Regions from separate parts of the Homo sapiens genome. Here all the other regions are linked to region 3. Evidence: promoter capture Hi-C in 16 types of primary human blood cells and fetal thymus (Javierre and others, 2016). All regions are on one chromosome and are shown on one strand. The core of a region is centred on a gene start or on the middle of the fragment in contact, and the rest is flanking DNA. Distances in the headings are between cores, read along the strand shown.

The links. Contacts are between HindIII fragments. The CHiCAGO score rates a contact against its expected background, and 5 or more counts as called.
Region 1: a fragment that was not itself captured here is called in contact with the fragment with the promoter of FITM2 in region 3 in 6 of 17 cell types (naive CD4 T cells, total CD8 T cells, megakaryocytes and 3 more); the score reaches 7.0 in naive CD4 T cells.
Region 2: a contact is called between the fragment with the promoter of JPH2 here and the fragment with the promoter of FITM2 in region 3, in 1 of 17 cell types (M2 macrophages). The highest score is 5.7, in M2 macrophages.

Annotation. Positions count from the first base shown.
Region 1 is chr20:44,213,506-44,217,170 of GRCh38, reverse strand. OSER1-DT (OSER1 divergent transcript) reads right to left here. Exons shown (of 3, transcript NR_038339.2): 2 at 2,168-2,283. Among named protein-coding and RNA genes, the nearest start is that of OSER1-DT, 4.4 kb to the right of the region's middle. RefSeq lists a silencer at 1,861-1,950. The HindIII fragment of the contact is 6,345 bases long and covers 1-3,665 here.
Region 2 is chr20:44,185,768-44,189,326 of GRCh38, reverse strand. JPH2 (junctophilin 2) reads left to right here and starts at 2,139. Exons shown (of 6, transcript NM_020433.5): 1 at 2,139-3,000. The coding sequence starts at 2,622. The HindIII fragment of the contact is 12,085 bases long and covers 1-3,559 here.
Region 3 is chr20:44,309,796-44,313,464 of GRCh38, reverse strand. FITM2 (fat storage inducing transmembrane protein 2) reads left to right here and starts at 2,263. Exons shown (of 2, transcript NM_001080472.4): 1 at 2,263-2,489. The coding sequence starts at 2,317. RefSeq lists enhancers at 2,211-2,360, 1,957-2,686, 2,651-2,740, 2,687-3,416. The HindIII fragment of the contact is 15,971 bases long and covers 1-3,669 here.

The sequences.
Region 1 (3,665 bases), core at 933-3,432, 96 kb after region 3:
TGTTTCCAGAAAGCCAGTAGACAACTGGAATTATTTGCTGAGATGACTGACTGACTGATGGACTCACTGGCTCCTGTGGTAGGTACAGCTCCTATTCTGGTGGACTGCATGCGAAGTCCCATGGGACAACGGGGTCGGGCCATTTAACACACACAGGGGAGCAGGAGTTGAGGGAGGGAAAGTCAACATAATAGGTTTTTCTTGCCCTCCAGAAATTTAGAATCTAGCAGGAGATACAAGAAATGTACGGGTAAAGGGCTGAAAATAAGTTCAGGAGGGACCTGAAGAAGCTCCAGGTGAAATGTTACTGTGGTCGTAGAGACAGGGAGGGGACCTGAGCTGACGAAGTGGACGGGTGGTAGACAGAGGAGCTGGAGGCTCTTCAGTTGTAGGGAGGGGCAAAAAACAGATGCCCAGAGAAGCCAACAGGCCCCCAGTGGACTCTCATGGTAGAAGAAAGTGGGGAGGATCACCACCATTGAGGCAGGTCCTTAGGGCTGTGGCTCCAGGAACTCCATTTTGTCAGGGTACCCAGAGCCAAACAAATTCTGCGGGATGGACTATCTGTTGACTGAAGATCTATAAGCCAGGTGCAGTGTATTCATTTGCAGAAAGGACTATGTCCTTCCCACAACTGGAATGCTTGTGTTTGCCTTCCAGGGCTCCCTTGTTTCTTTCCTCTGATTATCTCCCACCCTCTCCTTAAGGGTCCTGACCTTTCCTGTGGCTTCAATGGCCACCTGTATGCAGACTCCACAGTCTTTATTTCCAGTCCCCACCTCCCATGTGAGCTTCAGAACCATATATCTGCATGCCTGCTAGACACCTCCACGCGGCTGCCCCACGGATCTCTCAGGTTCACTCTGTCCAAACTGAACTAATTTAGAGATATATCAGCACAGAGAGGCAGTGACAGCACAGACTCTACCAAGCTGCCTAGGTTCAAATTCTAGCTCTGCCACTTGTTAGCTGTGTGACCTTGGTGAGTTACTTAACTTCTCTTTGCTTCAGTTTCCTCATCTGGAAGATGAGTGTGATAATGGTAATCTCATAGAATTGTGGTGAGAATTAAAATGAGTCTTCTGATGCATAGGAAGAGCTATGAAAGTATTAGCCCTCATAGGCTGGGCATGGTAGCTCATGCCTGCAGTCCCAGCACTTTGGGAGGCTGAGGCAGGCAGATCACTTGAGGCCAGGAGTCCGAGAGCAGCCTGGCCAACATGGCAAAACGCTGTCTCCACAAACAAACAAACAAACAAAAATTAGCCAGGCATGGTGGCACACGTGGGTGACTAAGGCAGGAGAATCACTTGAATTAGGGAAGCAGAGGTTGCAGTGAGCCAAGATTGCACCACTGCACCCCAGCCTGGGCAACAGAGCAAGACTCTGTCTCAAAAAAAAGAAAAGAAAAGGAAAGAAATAAAAGAAAGTATTAGCTGTTACTATGATTCTCCATTTAAATGTTCTTCCTCTGCTCACTGTCAGCTGGGTTCAACAGAGTTTAATTGAGATGGGCACCAATATCCATTCAGTTGCTCAAACTGGAAAGCAAAGTATCATTGTCAGCTTTCTCTCACTGCCCATCCTGTTCGTAGTCAATCTCTCCCCAAGGCCTGATCTACGCAACTTTCCAATCGGCTCACTTGTTCTCCATACTTAGGGCCACCTGCCCCTTCGATCACCATCATCTCAGGCCTGGATCACCATGCCGGCTCACGCTGAAACCAGTCATCTTTCTAAAATAAATTTGGTCATTTCTTTCCATAGCTCCTACAGTTCTCAGAAGGAGAAACCTCAGGATAAGTCCCTTGCTGCAGCCTTTGGGACCTGATTCCTCCTTTCATCTGCACTTGAAACTTTTATGTTCAAAACCAAACCGTCTCACACTCCCCAAACCTAGTCTTCTTGGATTCCCTTCCTTAGTGAAGGGGGCCACCTACTGGCACGGCTCAGGCCAGACATCTGCTCAGCAGGCTGCCGAGCCCTGCTGGTCTCACCATCCTTCAGCCATGGTTCCCATTCTGGTCTTCCCTCAGATTATTTCGAGTGTCTTCTAACTGGTCTCTCTTACATTCCCCACCCTCCCCATCTACTTTCTAAGAGTCTGCTGGAATGATATAAATTGCTACTAAAAATACAAAAATTAGCAGAGCATGGTGGTGCTCACCTGTAATCCCAGCTACTGAGGAGGCTGAGGCACGAGAATCAGTCGAACCTGGGGGCGGAGGTTACAGTGAGCCAAGATTGTGCCATTTCACTCCAGCCTGGGTGACAGAGCGAGATCTCAAAAAAAAAAAAAAGGTTTCAATAGTTTCTGGCACACAACACTCAATGCCTTCCTTTAACAAGTAATTATTGAGAGCCAACTATGTGCCACATAGAGTTCAGGCCTTGGGGATACACTGTATTTTCATCAATTCTAAGACACCATCATTTTAAAGACTCACCACTTACTGTAGGAACAAGTAAGAAAGAAAAAAATACTACCAATTAAACCAGGACACACTGGCGATTATAAGACACATTCAGATTTTCTAACCGCTATTAATAAATTGTGGGAAAATGTGCATCTTTGATTAAAAAAAATAGTGACTAAAAAAAAGACACAAAGTCCCTGTCCTCGGGTAGCTTCTATTCTAGTGAGGGGACCAAAAAATAACTATACATTGTCAGGTAGTGACAAGTGCTATGATAAAGCAGGGTAAAGGGATACACAGTGAAGGGGGTGCTGGGGAAGCCAAGGAAGACCCCCCTGGGGAGCTGATATGAGCAGAGACTTTGAATGACAAGATGAACTGTGAGTAAACAATGCTCCAGGAGGGGAAATACATACAAAAGACCTGAGAGGGAAATATGCCTGCTGGGTTCAAATATATGCAAAGAAAGAGTGGCTGGAACAGTCCTAGGCCCTGGGCAGCCAATTTCCTCAAACCCAGTGGTATTTTCCAGGTGAAAGCAGGTATCCCTGGTCTAGCTGGGTACATACAGGAGGTGAAGGTGGGGAGGCTAAGGAAAGCAGTGTAACTCAGCGGTCAGCAGGGTGCTATAGTCAGACTGCCTAGATTGGAATCCCCGTTCTACCACTTACAAACTATGTAACCTTGGACAAGTTATCTAACTATTCTGAGCCTAGTTTCCTCAGCTGTAAAACAGACATCATAGAAGTACATTTCACAAATTGGTTATGAAGATTACATGAGCTAACATCTTGTAAATCAAGACAAATAATCATTATCACTATCTTCTATCCCAAAGTCATTTTAATTTAATTTTATTTTTTTTTTTGAGACAAGGTCTTGCTCTGTAGCCCAGGCTGGAGTGCCGTGGCATGATCTCAGCTCACTGCAACCTCCACCTCCTGGGTTCAAGGGCTTCTCATGCCTCAGCCTCCAAGTAGCTAGGATTACAGGTGTGTGCCCACCACTCCCAGCTAATTTTTGTATATTTATTTATTTATTTTTCAGTAGAGATGGGGTTTCACCATGTTAGCCAGGCTGGTCTCGAACTCTTGACTTCAGGTGATCCACCTGCCTCAGCCTCCCAAAGTGTTGGGATTACAGGCGTGAGCCACCACGCCTGGCCTACCCTAAGTCATTTAAAAAAGTATATCGAGGTAAGAAATAAATTAATTTGAGTCTTAAAACATAAGAACAGAATATTTTCCA
Region 2 (3,559 bases), core at 890-3,389, 120 kb after region 3:
ATGTGTAGTAACCCTGGGTAGACAGCTACCCTAGGGAGCTGCTATGGATGAACAGTGGTTAAATTCCCATAGGTAGAACACCCTGCTAAGATGTAGCAATGGCTGCCTGGCATAAACATATGATTACGGTATTGAATCTGCAGCTCAAACTCCCCTAGCTTCCAGTTTGAGATGCTCTTCCCTTGACAGCAGAGCTAGAAAGAAGTTTGTGATTCTCCAAAGACCTAGTGAGAAGTGGCGAAAGCAGAACTCCCTGGGAGTAGCCCTGAGATGTTCTTAGAAGTGAATTGTGCAAGCAGGCTGTCAGTCAGCCTGGCCAGGGCTCACACCTAACCACCCAGAGGAAACAGTTTTTATCCACTACGTGCTCCCTGTCAGCTTGGCAAACAGACGGTGACAGTGAGCCCAAGAGGCTGGGTGCCTCTACCTGGTGGTGAAACGCAGATATAGAAGGGGCTCTTGAAGGTCAGCGGCTGTGACCAAGGATGGAACCAAGTCCTAAGAACAGGTAACCCACTGGAAGGAAAGCAGGGAACACTTTTTACCCACTCCCCAAACAGGAACAAGACTTCCGCAGTGACTTCACGTGGCCTAAGTTATCATGGGGTTTGGAAATATGTCAGATAAGTTCAAAGTCAGATAATTGTCTAATGTTCTCTAGTACCTTCTGTGCTTAGTTCTCTCTTTCTCTTCTGTCCCCATCTTCACACACACACTCACACACACACACTCACACATGGAAACACACACACTCTTACCACACACACATACAAACACACACACTCTTACCACACACACTCACACAAACACACACTTACCACACACACACAAACACACACACTCTTACCACACACACTCACATACACTCACACACACTCTCTCACACTCTCACAGACACACGTTCACACACACGCACAGACACACACACACACAGATCTTCCTAGTCTTGGTGGCTCTTACCTTTCCCAGAATTCCTCTATACTCCCATTAACCTTGGGCTTAGCTGGGATTTACAATCATTAGCTCTGGCCACAGCTTCTTGCCATGGAGATTTATTTGTTCTTTTTACTGGAGTTTGGTGGGAACCTGAGTGGCTGGGAATCCACCCAGGCCCTTCTCTCCTGGCCCTGCCCCAAGAGCTTTCTGAAGTCTGGCCTCACAGGCTCCTAGGACACTAGAGCAAAAGACAGCTCAGAAAGGGAAATTTTAAAAAATCATGACCCTTGAGAATTTCTGAGAGGACCTCATTACAACACAACCCTGTGTTGACAGGAAGGGGACTCCTTTGACCTTCAGGGTCTGCTGGGTCTGCGGCAGGGGGCAGGGAGGGCGCCGAGGCATCAAGGGGTGGGGAGAGGAAGCTAGCGGGACGCCCAGTCTGTGTCTCAGGCAGAGAGGAGGGCAGGCTCCTCTCCCTTCTCTTTGCCCTTCAGGAGAAAGAGAAAGGGAATAGATGGTTGCTTCTTGCACCAAGTTCTCCCCGGCTTCCAGGGGTGGAGGGAGCTCAGGGTGGTGAGTGAGCACTGGACTGAGATTCTGTGTATCTTCCAGACCCTGTTTCCACAGCCTCCCCTCTCTTTCTGACTTCCCTCCTCTGCTTTCGGAAGCACATGTGAAACTGTCTCCATTCCTTTCTCTTTAGGTCACTGGATTCCTTGATGGGGCTGGCAGTGGTGCTGTAACCCCAGGTCCCCTTAGGGCATGTGAGTGGTGATGGGGCTGAGATCTGCCAACCTCCTCGCTCTGGGGGATTTTCAGTGTTCCAGGACTGGGTGTTCTGCTGGTCTCCCTCTCCCCTCCCTTCCCCGATTCCCCGGTGCCCTCCCTGCGCGCAGACCCAGGGGACTCTGAGAATGGAAGGGAGCTCTCATTCCCGGGAGGAAAAGACACCAGGTTCCCTGGGCTGCCTGCACTCAGTTCTCAGCCTCCTTCCTCATGCCTCCAGCCACTGCCCGGGTCTGCGGCACGGGCGCGATTTGAAATACCCCTCCTTCCCGCTTTGAAGAAGGCTGGGCTGGCTGGGGGTTATTTTGGGAGCAGCTTCTGAGATCCAATGGCCTTGTTAGGGCAACACTGACCTTTCCGTCCCAGAAGGAGGGCAGGATTGGAGAAGGGGGCGGGGCAGCGGCGGGGAGACCGACAGCCCCGCACACCCACTGGGGTGGAGAAGGGGGCCAGCGGGCTGCGGGAATTCAGCCTCCGGCGGGGGCTGCCACCGAGGGGAATTTCCCCTCTTTGAAAAGGCTGGGGACCCCTCCACCCCACCCTTTCACTGGGCTTCTTAAAGAGATCACACCGTTTTCCCTTGGACTTCTTGGAAGGCAGACTTGGGACGCTTTGTGGGGACTTTGAACCTTTCCTTCCTGCTTTCTTTCCAGCAGGCAGCCTTGCTCTGGCTGGTGGAGTCGGGGCTCCCGGGCATGGCACTGACTAGCCGACCCGGTGCTGACTTGGCGCCGGGGCTCTTTCAGCCTCTGCTGGCATCCTGCTTCCCCCCTCCTGGGGTGCAGTGGTGAGTCTGGGGGCCTGCCCCCGAGGGCACTGGAGGAGTGTTGCAGGCATCACCCACGCCCTCTGCACCCACGCTGGAGGACGGGGAGGTTGTCAGGGGCTATGATGAGATGAGTGGGGGCCGCTTCGACTTTGATGATGGAGGGGCGTACTGCGGGGGCTGGGAGGGGGGAAAGGCCCATGGGCATGGACTGTGCACAGGCCCCAAGGGCCAGGGCGAATACTCTGGCTCCTGGAACTTTGGCTTTGAGGTGGCAGGTGTCTACACCTGGCCCAGCGGAAACACCTTTGAGGGATACTGGAGCCAGGGCAAACGGCATGGGCTGGGCATAGAGACCAAGGGGCGCTGGCTCTACAAGGGCGAGTGGACACATGGCTTCAAGGGACGCTACGGAATCCGGCAGAGCTCAAGCAGCGGTGCCAAGTATGAGGGCACCTGGAACAATGGCCTGCAAGACGGCTATGGCACCGAGACCTATGCTGATGGAGGTGAGGCCAGCTGGGGGCCCGCAGAGGTGGGGTGGAGCCAGGGAGGGTGAGAAACCCTGGTGGAGGGTGGGAAAGGCGACCGGCAATTGGCACAGAATCAGATGGGCTAGGAAGTGATTTGCTGTGTGGTTTTGGGCAAGCTGCTCTACCTTTCTGAGCTTCCATTTTCTTGTAGTAAAGATGGAGCTAATAAAGGGGTTATTGAGAGGATTAGTGGCAGTGCTTAGTACAAAGCCTGCCATGTAAGTGCACACTCAACACACAATAAAATATAACTACTACCATTAGCATGTTCGGTATGCCCCAACATAAACAGCCATGGAATATACTCTAGCAGAATTAGGGTCTAGTCTTAACTTTGCCATGAAAATTATTTTCAAGCAATAGATCATGAGGAGTATTCATCCACCCACCCATCCATCCATCCACCCATCCAACTATCCACTCATCATCTATCCACACACCAATCCACCCACCCGTCCATCCATCCATTCATCCATCCACCCACCTGCCTGCCCATCCATCCATCTACCCACCCACGCATTCATGCTTCCACCCA
Region 3 (3,669 bases), core at 1,014-3,513:
GCTAACATTTCCCAGTGTGGTAGCTGTCCTTGGTATAGAGACACAAAATTATTTTGGGCAGCTAGTGATGATGAATATTTCGATAGAAATTTTTCTTTGGGCCGGGTGTGGTGGCTCACGCCTGTAATCCCAGCACTTTGAGAGGCAGAGGCAGGAAGATCACTTGAGGCTAGGAGTTGGAGACCAGCCTGGTCAACATGGCGAAACCCTGTCTAAAAATACAAAAAAATTAGCCAGGTGTGGTGGCATGTGCCTGTAGTCCCAGCTGCTTGGGAGGGTGAGGCAGGAGACTACCTTGAACCCGGGAGGCAGAGGTTACAGTGAGCCAAGATCAAAATAGCTTGGCCTCCCAAAGTGCTGGGATTACAGGCGTGAGCCACCACGTCTGGCCTAAAATGCCCATCTCTTGATATGACTATATATGTGTGTATTGGCTGGGTTTGTGGCTTTTGGAATAAACTTCTGTTGTTTAAAACAAGTTTAGGGTTGGGCACGGTGGCTCGCACCTGTAATCCTAGCACTTTGGGAGGCCGAGGCAGGAGGATCACTGGAGCCCAGGCGTTCGAGATCAACCTGGGCAACATAGTGAGACCCCATCTCTATTTAAAACTAAAGAAAAAAAAAGGAATAAAAATAAACTGAGTTTATAGTAATTTATTAGAGCTGCCACAGGAAACTAACATTGGGGTAAGGGAATGAGTCCAAGGTTGGGAACTGAAATAGACACCCAGCCCTAACCAGGGGTGAGGGGTTAGTTTTGTGATAAACTGAGCAACTGAGTCTCCAACAACTTCATGTGATCTCCCCATTAACCCCCAGCATCCAGCATTTTCATCCAACAGGCATAGATAGCTGTTTTGTGTTTCTTTGTGTGCTTTTTAAGACGGTCTCGCTCCGTGGCCCAGGCTGGAGTGCAATGGGACCATCACAGCTCACTGCAACCTCAAATTCCTGGGCTCAAGCAATCCTCCCACCTCAGCCTCCTGAGTAGCTGGGACCACAGGCCTGAGCCACCAAGTCAGCTAGTTTTTAAAATTATTTCTTATAGATACTGAGTCTCACTGTGTTGCCCAGGTGAAAATAAATTTAGAAATTTAAACTTTAAATGTAATAATTGCACCAGGTGAGATGGCTCACTCCTGTAATCTCAGCACTTTGGGAGGTGAAGGCTGGCAGATCACTTGAGGTTAAGATTTGGAGAGGTCAGATCACTTGAGGACAGGAGTTGGTCAGCCTGGCCGACATGGTGAAACCCCATCTCTACTAAAAATACAAAAATTAGCTGGGTGTGGTGGTGCGTGCCTGTAATCCCAGCTACTCGGGAGGCTGAGGCAGGAGAATCGCTTGAACCTGGGAGGCAGAGGCCTGCAGTGAGCTGAGATCGCGCCACTGCATTCCAGCCTGGGCAACAGAGCGAGACTATGTCTCTAAATAAATTAATTATATTAATTAATTAATTTAATAACTGCAGAGCGTGGTGGCTCACACTTGTAATTGCAGCATTTTAGGAAGCCGAGGCAGGAGGATCGCTTGAGCCCAGGAGTTTGAGACCAGCCTCGACAACGAAGCAAAACCCTGTCTCTACAGAAATAAAAATAAAAAAAATTAGCCAGGTGTGGTGGTGCCCGCCTGTGGTCCCAGCTACTCGGGAGGCTGAGGTGGGAGTATTGCTTGAGACCAGAAATTTGAGGTTGCGGTGAGCTGCGACGGTGCCATTGCACTCCAGCCTGGGCGACAGAGAGGGACCCCCCCCCAACTAACTAATAAATAAATAAATACAATAATTATTCCTAAGGAAACTTCATCTCATGTCCCTCTACGTGTGCCAACGTAATGAACCCCTGAGCTCATAAACTAGCTTTTGGGAAAGGTTGATCTCCTCTTGTCTCTCGCATTTTACAGATGAGAAAACTAAGACTCAGATGGCAGAGGTGTCTCCGAGGCTCCAAGAAAGATCAAATGATGCTGTGACTACTGCTCCAATTCTCCAGGGCTACATTTATCCTCTTCCAGCCTCCAGCAAATACTTTCACAAGCGCTTTTTCCCAGACCAGAGCAAGACGCGGAGGCTCGGGGAGAGGAGGCGGCCAGGAGAGCGCAGAGGAGACGAGCGAGTTCGGGGACCGTCACGCGCCAGAGGCAGCAGCGGCCACGAGGGGGAGCGCGCGGGCTCCGGAGCCCAAGCACGCCTCAAGCTGTGGGACTCGCGGGCAGTGCGCATGCGCTCGAAGGGAGGTGGAGGCGCAGGTCCGGGCGAAGGGCGATACGGTGGCCGAGAGGGCACGGAGAGGAGGACGGTGGCTGACGAGATCCGGCATGGAGCATCTGGAGCGCTGCGAGTGGTTGTTGCGGGGGACGCTGGTGCGGGCGGCCGTGCGGCGCTACCTGCCCTGGGCCCTGGTGGCCTCCATGCTGGCGGGCTCCCTCCTCAAGGAGTTGTCCCCGTTGCCCGAGAGCTACCTCAGCAACAAGCGCAACGTCCTCAACGTGTGAGTGCACCCCGGTCCTCCGCTGTCCCCGCCCGAGCCGGCCCGCTGTCGCCTCGCCCAGAGAAGCCGGTGCTAGCTGCCGTGGTGGACGAGTCATTGGAGGGGAGGTCCTCCTCCTAGCCGTGACAGCAGCATCTGCACGCGTGTCACGCCTGGGAGGCCCCGGGGTAGCTGGTGTCACTAGCAGTTAGTGTTTGCAGACCCACTTTGGGCAGCATGAGCTTGACTGGGCAGGTGGTGACAAGCGGGGTCGTGTGTGTCTCTGTATATGTAGGGGTGTGGAATGGGGTGGGGATGAACCAGCCCCTGTCACCACTCCCCCGCCTCCCCTTGGAGTTAGGAGCTGACCCCTGCCCTGTTTGGGAGATGCCATCTCACCTCTGTCCTGCCTGCCTGTGGCAGACCCCGCGCAGACCCCACCCTGCGTCAGATCAGATCCCTCCAGCGCGTGACAGAATCCCTTTACGACCTGTGGAAGAGCCTCGCCCCAGCCTGTGACAGGCAGAGCCCCCGCCTGTGAGATACTCACAGAGGGCTGGAACCCCCTAGTCTGTGCCCTTTCCCCTGGATCTCCTTGGATCATCTCAGCCACTCAGAATGCATGGCAGTGGCCCAGAAAAGCAATCCCAGCTGGGCGCTTTGAGACATCTCCTTAACTCCACCCATCCACTCCTTTGCTTGCTTACTTGCTTTTTTCAAAACTCCCGGTTAGTAAGTTTATTGCACAAAAACTCTGTTGCGGTCATAAAGGGAAACTCTGAAAGATAAAACTGCTCCCTTGATGTGAGCCTAAGTGTTTTCCAGAATAAGTGTCTCTGGCGTGTCCTGAAAGTCAGCCCAACTTTGGTTATCTGCTTAAAACCCTGGTTCCTTTCACAGGCAGCTTCCTCAAATGCCTGACGGGTCTTGGCTCTGGCAAGATCTTCCTTATCAGTCCCAGTGAAGATTTTAGTGACAGGCCTGGGGGTGGTGCCTGAGAATCCATTGGAACCTAGAAAAAAGTCCTTCTGTCCTTGGTCCACCTTCCTTCCTCACCCACCCTGAGAGGCTGGGCTAAGAATAGATCATGAGAGTGGTAGTGGCCCCAAGTCTCTGTCCTGGGTTTAGGTCAGCCACCTTTCGTGAACGCTGGGGAGGCGGACAAGGCAGCTGCTGCTTCCTCTGGCCTAGGTGAGCTGGG